2 separate regions of the Homo sapiens genome follow, and region 2 is linked to region 1. The links are contacts of gene promoters, found by promoter capture Hi-C in blood cells and fetal thymus (Javierre and others, 2016). All regions are on one chromosome and are shown on one strand. The core of a region is centred on a gene start or on the middle of the fragment in contact, and the rest is flanking DNA. Distances in the headings are between cores, read along the strand shown.

The links. The method cuts DNA at HindIII sites, captures the fragments that hold promoters and counts their contacts. A CHiCAGO score of 5 or more calls a contact.
Region 2: a contact is called between a fragment that was not itself captured here and the fragment with the promoter of VCF1 in region 1, in 2 of 17 cell types (megakaryocytes and neutrophils). The highest score is 5.9, in megakaryocytes.

Annotation. Positions count from the first base shown.
Region 1 is chr17:73,231,144-73,235,410 of GRCh38, forward strand. It overlaps VCF1 (VCP nuclear cofactor family member 1), which reads right to left and starts at 1,251. Exons shown (of 4, transcript NM_001098832.2): 1 at 943-1,251. The coding sequence starts at 1,163. MTNAP1 (mitochondrial nucleoid associated protein 1) reads left to right here and starts at 1,290. Exons shown (of 6, transcript NM_001351264.2): 1 at 1,290-1,346; 2 at 2,077-2,182. RefSeq lists an enhancer at 1-744. The HindIII fragment of the contact is 5,222 bases long and covers 638-4,267 here.
Region 2 is chr17:72,976,508-72,980,595 of GRCh38, forward strand. The region is part of intron 4 of SLC39A11 (solute carrier family 39 member 11); the gene reads right to left. Among named protein-coding and RNA genes, the nearest start is that of SLC39A11, 110 kb to the right of the region's middle. RefSeq lists an enhancer at 1,397-1,897. The HindIII fragment of the contact is 2,484 bases long and covers 1,512-3,995 here.

The sequences.
Region 1 (4,267 bases), core at 1-2,500:
GCAGCTTGGGGAACCCTAGGTTTTCACTATGGGACCAAATAAACTCAGAATACTTTTGAGAACTTCAATCACATGAAATAATTATTTCAGAGAAGGATCCTTGTGGAAAGACCGTAACAGGAAGAGCATTCTGAGGTAACCTTTCCCAACTTTCTCCTCCACACATTCTTGCAGAGGAAATTAAGAGAGAGAAAAAAATTAAGAAATCCCAACTTAGTCCGGACTCTAGTAGTACATGTCAAGCACAGAACCCCTAATTTAAGACCCGCGTCCCGAGGCCAGGCTCCCTCGGGAAGGTAGCGAGTGCATCGCGATAAAATCTTTCCTCCCGCCTTCGGAGTCAAACGGCCCCGCAATCCAAACAGTTTAGAATCCAGCTTGTTCTTAATGCCACAGTCAAGAGAAGATCCATAACCCGCCTTGGTCATCTGCCCTTCTGTGTTCACAACCGTTCAGGGCACAAGTTCTTCGGTCTAACCGAATCTTTCCCTGCTGCGGGGTTAAGCCCAACCTTTCTTTCTGACCTTGGGGAGCCGGCAGCTCCCCGCCCGGTGCCCTCACAAAAGCCTTTGGGGGCTCCCTCTCCAAGATGAGACGTTTATCCCATCCCCCCACCCTCCTAAATTTAGGACAGGAAAGCTTTAGGGCCACCGTCTCTCTTCCGGGACCGATCACACTTCGTTCCAAATAGGAAAAGACAGGGGGGAAAAAAGATGGAGGGGCGGGAGACCTGGACCCCGGAGAGTCACCTTCCAGCTACCCACAGGAACCAAGCATCCGATCACTCGCGCATCCCTCTCCCCTCCTCCCCCGGCCCGCAGTGCACCCCACAGGGAGCCCCGCCGGGTCCACTCTTGCTCCGACCCCCATTTCGCGCGCCCCCTCGGCTCTATCTCCCAGATCCTCAGGCGACGAATGGAAAGGGGGTCCCTTCCCTCTCACCTGGGACGGAGGCGCTCGCTCATGGCAGCTGGCGGATGGAAGCTACGCGGCGCCGCTCCGCGAAGAGAGGGAACAGAGGGGGTTGTGTTTCGGCGGCCGCCACGCCCACCCCCTCGGGCCTTGGCTCTCGCAGCCGCTCGGGTGGACGCAGCCGGTGGCGAGTACCCCTCAGTCGGACCCGTACCACCACTACTTCCGGCGTCTGCTCCGCGCCCCCCCATGTCGCTGCCGCCGTGGTACCGCCCTCTCGCGGCTGCGCAGTGGCACCATCCCAACCGCACCGACTGGTAACCCCGCCCACGGGAAGAGGCGGGCTCGGAGCGGGAGGAGCGACTAGGAGCTTCTGGGAGAAAGGACCTCCCCTGGGGTGGCAGAAGCGCTCGCCTGTTCACAGCCAACGGAGGGTACGGTATAAAAGTCAAGCCAGGTTTCAAATAAATTCAATTATGTCATAATAATATCATACAAGTATTTGAGTTGAATCCGTGTAACATATTTTAAAACAGGCGGACCTATCCGGCAGTGGTGCAGACGGCCTGACGAGGTTCCTTGGCCGGGGGTTGGGCAGGGGCCTGGGGGGCTTCCCTGGGGGGCTTGTCGCCGGGGCCGCCTGGGCTTTCAGGTCTTCCGAGGTGAGGACGGTGCTCTGTGGGGAGCTTGCAAGGGCGGGTTTGTTTTCCGCGGCCCACGTTCTAAGTCTGGGGGAGACTCTCCTGAGCGGAGAGGGTAGGGAATCGGGTGCCGGGGCCGGCGGAGGGTCTTCCTGGAACCGCAGGAGGAAATCCTCGGTGGGGCTGCGGGAACGGCTGTCCCTGACCCAGGAGCTGCCGGGCCGACCCCATCCACTCCGCAGAATCAGAACAGCTGGCAGAATCAGAACAGCTTTCAGGGAAAGGAAGGGTGCGGGGAGGTGGGCAGGCTGGTAACGCAGCGGGAGGAGGGAAAGGCGGCTGGAGAGCGCCGGAGGTGAGGGTGAGGATTAGTGGAACTATTGAGGTCCTCCTTGAGCCCGGAGGCTGGGGAGGTCTTAACTCTCTGCTTTCCGGAACCTGTGTTTCTATTTGGTTCAGTATCGTGCCGCGTTTACTCACTGTGCATGCTGCCAAGTCACCTGTCTGATCGTGTCCTACACAGGCTGACATTCACGTTTCATTCTGCCACACTCGGGAACGGTGATCGGGGAAGCATGGGGATCCGGGAGAAGCACCCACAAAACTAGCATCCTCCTGGAGGAGCTCGGGTAAGAAAACAGACACCCACGTATAGACGTTATCGTGGGAATGTACCGGGATCTTTCAAGTAGGGTTGAGTGTGAGGTGGAGTGGAGGCAGAAACGTCTAGCAGGTGTCAAGCCCTTCCTAACGTTGTTAGCCGAAGGTCCATGGACTGGCTTCATTTGTGTGTATTATTGTAAACAAACAGTCTGTGGCTTTCATCCTGTTAGTGTGTACCTCCAAAGAAAGAAAGAATGATGGCTCACGCCTGTAATCCCAGCAGGCTGGGCGCGGTGGCTCACGCCTGTAGTCCCAGCACTTTGGGAGGCCGAGGCGGGTGGATCACCTGAGGTCAGGAGTTCAAGACCAGCCTGGCCAACATGGTGAAACCCCGTCTCTACTAAAAATACTAAAATTAGCTGGGCGTGGTGGCGCACGCCCTTAATCCCAGTAATCCCAGCCACGCGGGAGGCTGAGGCAGGAGAACCGTTTGAACCTGGGAGGCTGAGGTTGCTGTGAGCCGAGATCGCGCCACTGCACTCCAGCCTGAGTGATAGAGCAAGACTCCATCTCAAAAAAAAAAAGACCAAACAACAACAAAGTAAAAATGATTACTGTAATCTGTTGGCAGAAAACAGTTTTGTTTTGAAGGACTTCGTACAGGATAAGGTGGGTTGGTTGCTTTATTGAATGGATTGGTGAAGATTGTGTCTATTTTGTAAGTGGTTTCAGTCACCCTTTTTAATCTCTTTGGTAGTCAGAAGATATTATCAGTTGTAGTACTGAATAATATTTAAACGTTTATATCTAAAGAATTAAGTGAACAAATATTGTATGCCAGGCTCAGTGCTAGGTTTTTACATACAGCTGTGTGCAGGATAGATATGTTTCCTGCCCTCTGGAACTTTATAGAAAGAATAAGAGATGTAGAAAGGAAATAACTTTCAACTAAACATTGGAATTAAACATTTTCTTTTCTGGACTCTAAAGAATAACAGGTACAAATATACATGGTATAAATGTTTTTTTTTTAATTTTTTACATCGTATATGTTTAACAAAGATGTCAAACTAATTTGCCAGTAATCTGTTGTACTAGAAACTATAAGTAGGCCAGGCGTGGTGTCTCACGCCTGTAATCCCAGCACACTGGAAGGCCGAAGGCGGGCAGATCACGAAGTCAGGAGATTGAGACCATCCTGGCCAACATGGTGAAACCCCGTCTCTACTAAAAATACAAAAATTAGCCTGGCGTGGTGGCGCATGCCTGTAGTCCCAGCTCCTCGGGATGCTGAGGCAGGACAATAGCTTGAACCTGGGAAATGGAGGTTTCAGTGAGCCGACACTGCACTCCGGCCTGGTGACAGAGTGAGACTCTGTCTCAAAAAAAAAAAAAAAAAAGTATAAGTGAAAAACAGGACTGTGTCCTTGGCCATGTATATATTTGTGCATTATGCATACATTTTATGTATATCTGTGTGTGTGTGTGTGTGTATATGCATATTACTAAATGTTAGTAGAGCTTCATTTCTCATTCTTTGATTGTGGTAATTCTAATATTTTCTTCTTACACCCTAGTGCATATTCTATTTATCACTTTGGAAACCTCTGCTGTAATCAGTAACCTTTGGCTGGGCGTGGGCGTGGTAGCTCGCGCCTGTAATCTCAGCACTTTAGGGGGCTGAGGTGGGTGGATTGCCAGAGCTCAGGAGTTCGAGACCAGTCTGGGTAACACGGACACGGTGAAACCCCGTCTTTACTAAAATACAAAAAATTAGTCAGGCGTGGTGGCATGCCCCTGTAGTCCCAACTACTTGGGAGGCTGAGACGAGAATTGCTTGAACCTGGGAGGCGGAGTTTGCAGTGAGCAGATATTGTGCCACTGCACTCCAGCCTGGGTGACAGAGTGAGACTCTGTTTCCAAAATAAATAAATAAATAAATAACCTTTGGTTCCTGGCCTAAGTTTTTTATTCTTTACCATTCTGTCCTTGAATAACGTGTTTAAGGGTTTTTAAACAATTTTTTATACTCATATAATGACTAGTTGACTTGCTGTAACCGTAAGTAGCAAACATCTAGCTTGTTCCAAATGAATTTAAAAGATACAACA
Region 2 (4,088 bases), core at 1,504-4,003, 250 kb before region 1:
GGGAAAATGACACCGAGGGGGAAAATCCTCATTTGCAGAAAGGCACAGAAATGTCTCTGTTGGCCGGGCGCGGTGGCTCACGCCTGTAATCCCAACACTTTGGGAGGCCAAGGCAGGCGGATCACGAGGTCAGGAGATCGAGACCATCCAGGCCAACATGGTGAAACCCCAATCTCTACTAAAAATACAAAAATTAGCCTGGCATGGTGGCACGTGCCTATAATCCCAGCTCCTCGGGAGGCTGAGGCAGGAGAATCACTTGAACCCGGGAGGCAGAGGTTGGAGTGAGCTGAGATCGTGCCATTGCACTCCAGCCTGGCAACAGAGCAAGACTCCGTCTCAAAAAAAAAAAGAAAAAAGAAAAAAAGAAATGTCTCTGTTAGGTCTCAGGATTATATATTGTAACCAATGTTACAAAGGGACAGGAGTGGTGGGAATTTCTAACATGGTGCCCCCAAAGATGTTTTGCCCTTATCCCCAGGACCTATGACTATGACACGCCATCAGTACCATGCTGTGGTGTGTTGTGAGTCACAGCTTGCGTTAGGATAAGATTACCCGGTTGGGCCTGACCTAGTCCCAGGAGCCCTGAAAAGCAGAAAGCTGTGTCCAGTGAAGGCAGAAAGGGAAGTCAGAGAGATTCGAAAGTGAGAAAGTGCCTGAGCCATGACTGGCTGAAGAAGCAGGGAGCCACATGGGAAGGAATGTGGACGGCCCCAAGGAGTGGAGAGAGGCCCTGGCTAATAGCCAGAAAGGACATGGGGCCTCACTCCCGCAGCCCTGCTGTATCCTGCCAGCAGACAGGAGCTTGGAAGGGACTCCGAAATCCAGATGAGAACACGACCGGCTGACCCACCCACGTGCTCCCAACCCTCTGACCTATGGAGTTTTGAGCTAACAAAGGGTGCTGTTTAAAGCTGTTAGACTTATAATCATTTGTACACAGCAAGAGAAAACTAAAATACCAGGGCAGGAAAAGGAGCGTGTCCCCAGGCCCTAGTTCATGCAGATAAAACCTGTCTTGGATATCAGAGGCAAGGGGAGAACACCCCCACCCCTGGTGAGATACACCAGGGACAAGTTTAGATGAACCACCTGAAAAAGCATCAGAGAAAGTGAAAGAGCAAAGAGCAGAGAGAGGGACTAGGGACATGTGGGAAAGAACCATGAAGTGCTAGCACCTTCCATAAAACACACAAACAAAGGGCTGGAACAGAAACACCCCCACACAGCAACAATGAGTTTGGGGAAACGGTAGTGATATTATCCAAAGGGTAACGGCTCCCAAAGTGAATGAATGCTTCCTATTCAATAAAGCAGTAAAGTACCGAGGTGGCCTGGAGAGCACGGCCAGCCACCAGCTGCCTGGGAGAGCGAAGGTGCCCAGGAGACCGACTGCATCGGCACCTGTTCCCAGGAGCCTCTCCCACCCACAAAGCCACAGGAATAGCAACCAGCAGTGAGTCACCGGGTCACCAGAGAAAAACCAGCAAAATGTCAGTCTCCGAGCAAGCTTCTCTATCATTGGATTCCTAGCCAGGGTGGTCGTTGAGAATCTTCCAGGCCGTCCTCCAGCCTGCGAACGCAGGGGAAGTACGGGGAGGTTCTAGTGAGAATCTGGGCTGTCGTCTGGGCCCCATTTGTAAACCCCAAACCACAGCCCTCTTCCCTGCCCTTAGGCGTTCCCTGCCTTCCTCTTCCTCTTCCTTCCTTCCTTCCTCTTTCCCTTCTTTCCTCCCTTGCTCCCTCCCTCCCTTCATCAGATATTTACCGAGCATTGTTCCCTGTGAGTCACTGTGCTGGTGTTGGCGACACGGCCAAGAACAAGCCTAACAAAGTCCCTGTCCTCAAGGAGCCTACATTGTGGTGGGGAAACCGATGATAAAGAAGTAAAAAATATACAAACGAACAAACTGGATAAGGAAGGTTGCTGACAAGTTCTAGGAAGGAAATAAACAGAGAAAGCCACGCACATTGTGGGGGGTCAGGGAGGAGCTTGGGAGGAGACATTTGCACTGAGGCAGCCACGCACAGAGCTTCGGGAACTCTGTTTCAGAGAAAAGGAATAGCAGATGCAAAGGCCGGGAGGTGGGACAGGGCTTGGGGAGCTTCTAAGAAGGGGGTGGGGAGACTGTGGGGAGCATGGAAGTGGAGGTGAGGGAGTAAGGGGGACCAGTCAGGAGGCCAGGTTCTGGGACAGAGACAGTAATGCCTTAGGCTGGGGTGGAAAGGAGTGGACAGGATGGGTCCACAAGACCTTTTTGGAAAGGTGCCAACAGCACTTGTTCATGAGAACGAAAGGAAACAACAAATCATCTCTGTTATCATTGAACACTTAGGGCACGCCAACTCTGGTAAGGCCCTGCCTTCAGCCCTGGGATACAAAGAAGGATGAGGTCTGGGTCTTGCTTTCAATGAGGTGACTGACTAGCCAGAAACATAATTTTACAAAGATAAAAAAGAAGGCCCTTGCTCTGGGGCTGACATGGTTAGGTTTTGTGTCTCCACCCAAATCTCATCTTGAATTGTAAACCCCATAATCACCACGTGTCAAGGGAGAGACCACGCGGAGGCAACTGAATCATGGGGGCAGTTTCCCCCATGCTGTTCTCGTGATAGTGAGTGAGTTCTCACGAGATCTGATGGTTTTATAAGGGGCTCCTCCCCCTTCGCTTGCCACTTCTCCTTCCTGCCGCCTTGTGAAGAAGCTACTTTTTCCCCTTCACCTTCCGCCATTATTGTAACTTTCCTGAGGGCTCCCCAGCCACGCAGAACTGTGAGTCAATTAAACCTCCTTCCTTTATAAATTACCCAGTCTTGGGCAGTTCTTTATAATGGTCTGAAAACAGACTAATACAGGGGCTATGTAAGTGAGACAGATAATTCTCACTCCAGTTATGCTGAGAGGAACCTGGACTCCGAGAGCACATCTGATCCATGGAAATACTGTCTGTCTTCACCTGTCTTGAGAAGCAGAGCAGGCAATGGGATGAGGGACGGATAGAGACATTCCCAAACATTACTGGTGAAAGTGTAAATCAGTACAAGCTCAGGAGAGGGCAACTTGAGAATTTCTAGAAAAGGGAAAATTTGGGTCCTGATGTGTGAAGCGCCACAGAAAATCGAGCCAGTTCAGGCCCCTGCCTTGTCCCTACCCAGCTGAGCTGCAAGGAGGCTGCTCTGCAGAGCTCACACTAACCCACCTCCCTCCAACACAGGACCCCAAAACAAATCTTGCCTATAACAGGTAGCATGCTGGAAAACCAAGACCTCAGATGATGCAGCTGGCAGAGTCTCAAACCTATGCTACTGCCCAAGGTAGATGGAGGCAAAGCAGCATGCCCTCCTCCCATAACCTGCTCCCCAAAGCGGCAAGCACCCCTCCCATGACTTGCTCCCCAAAGCAGCACACCCACTTCCCATGACCTCCCCAAAATGGTGCATCCTTCTCCCACGACTTGCTGCTGGATCCACTGATTCCTACACCAGCTCTCCAGCTGGGACAGCCACCCTTCCTGTCCCCAGCCACCCTGCTCTGTTAAGACCATGACATCCTATTTGCATCTATAACTCCCACCAACAATAGCGGGACCCAGGTGCTTATTTATGAAGATATTACTGTACATGTACAAATCTCAAAGAATCATCTAAAGAACGATTATTAACAAAAAAAGGTATTTTGTTTGGTGGCTCAAGACAAAATTAGTGGTGGCTCAAGACAAAATCAATAGCTTTTCTATGCAAAAACAACGGCCAGATGGAATATGTCATGAAATAGGAGACCCCGTCTGTAATACTCATAAAAGGAAATGAAATACCCAGGAATACATTCAACCCTAAACATGAAAAGTCCTTATGAAGAAAACTTAAAATGCTACTGGGAGACGCGATGAGTAGCCTGGATAGATGGAGTGGTGAGCTTTGTTCTTAGGCAGAAACGCTCATCGTCATAAACCTGTCATTTCTGCCTACGTTAATGTAGAAATTTGAAACAAAGCTTGTAAAAAAAAATACCTAGACGATGTTCTTGAAATTCGCAAGCTGATGCTAAAGTTCACATGGGAAAATATGCTGTAAGAATAACCAAG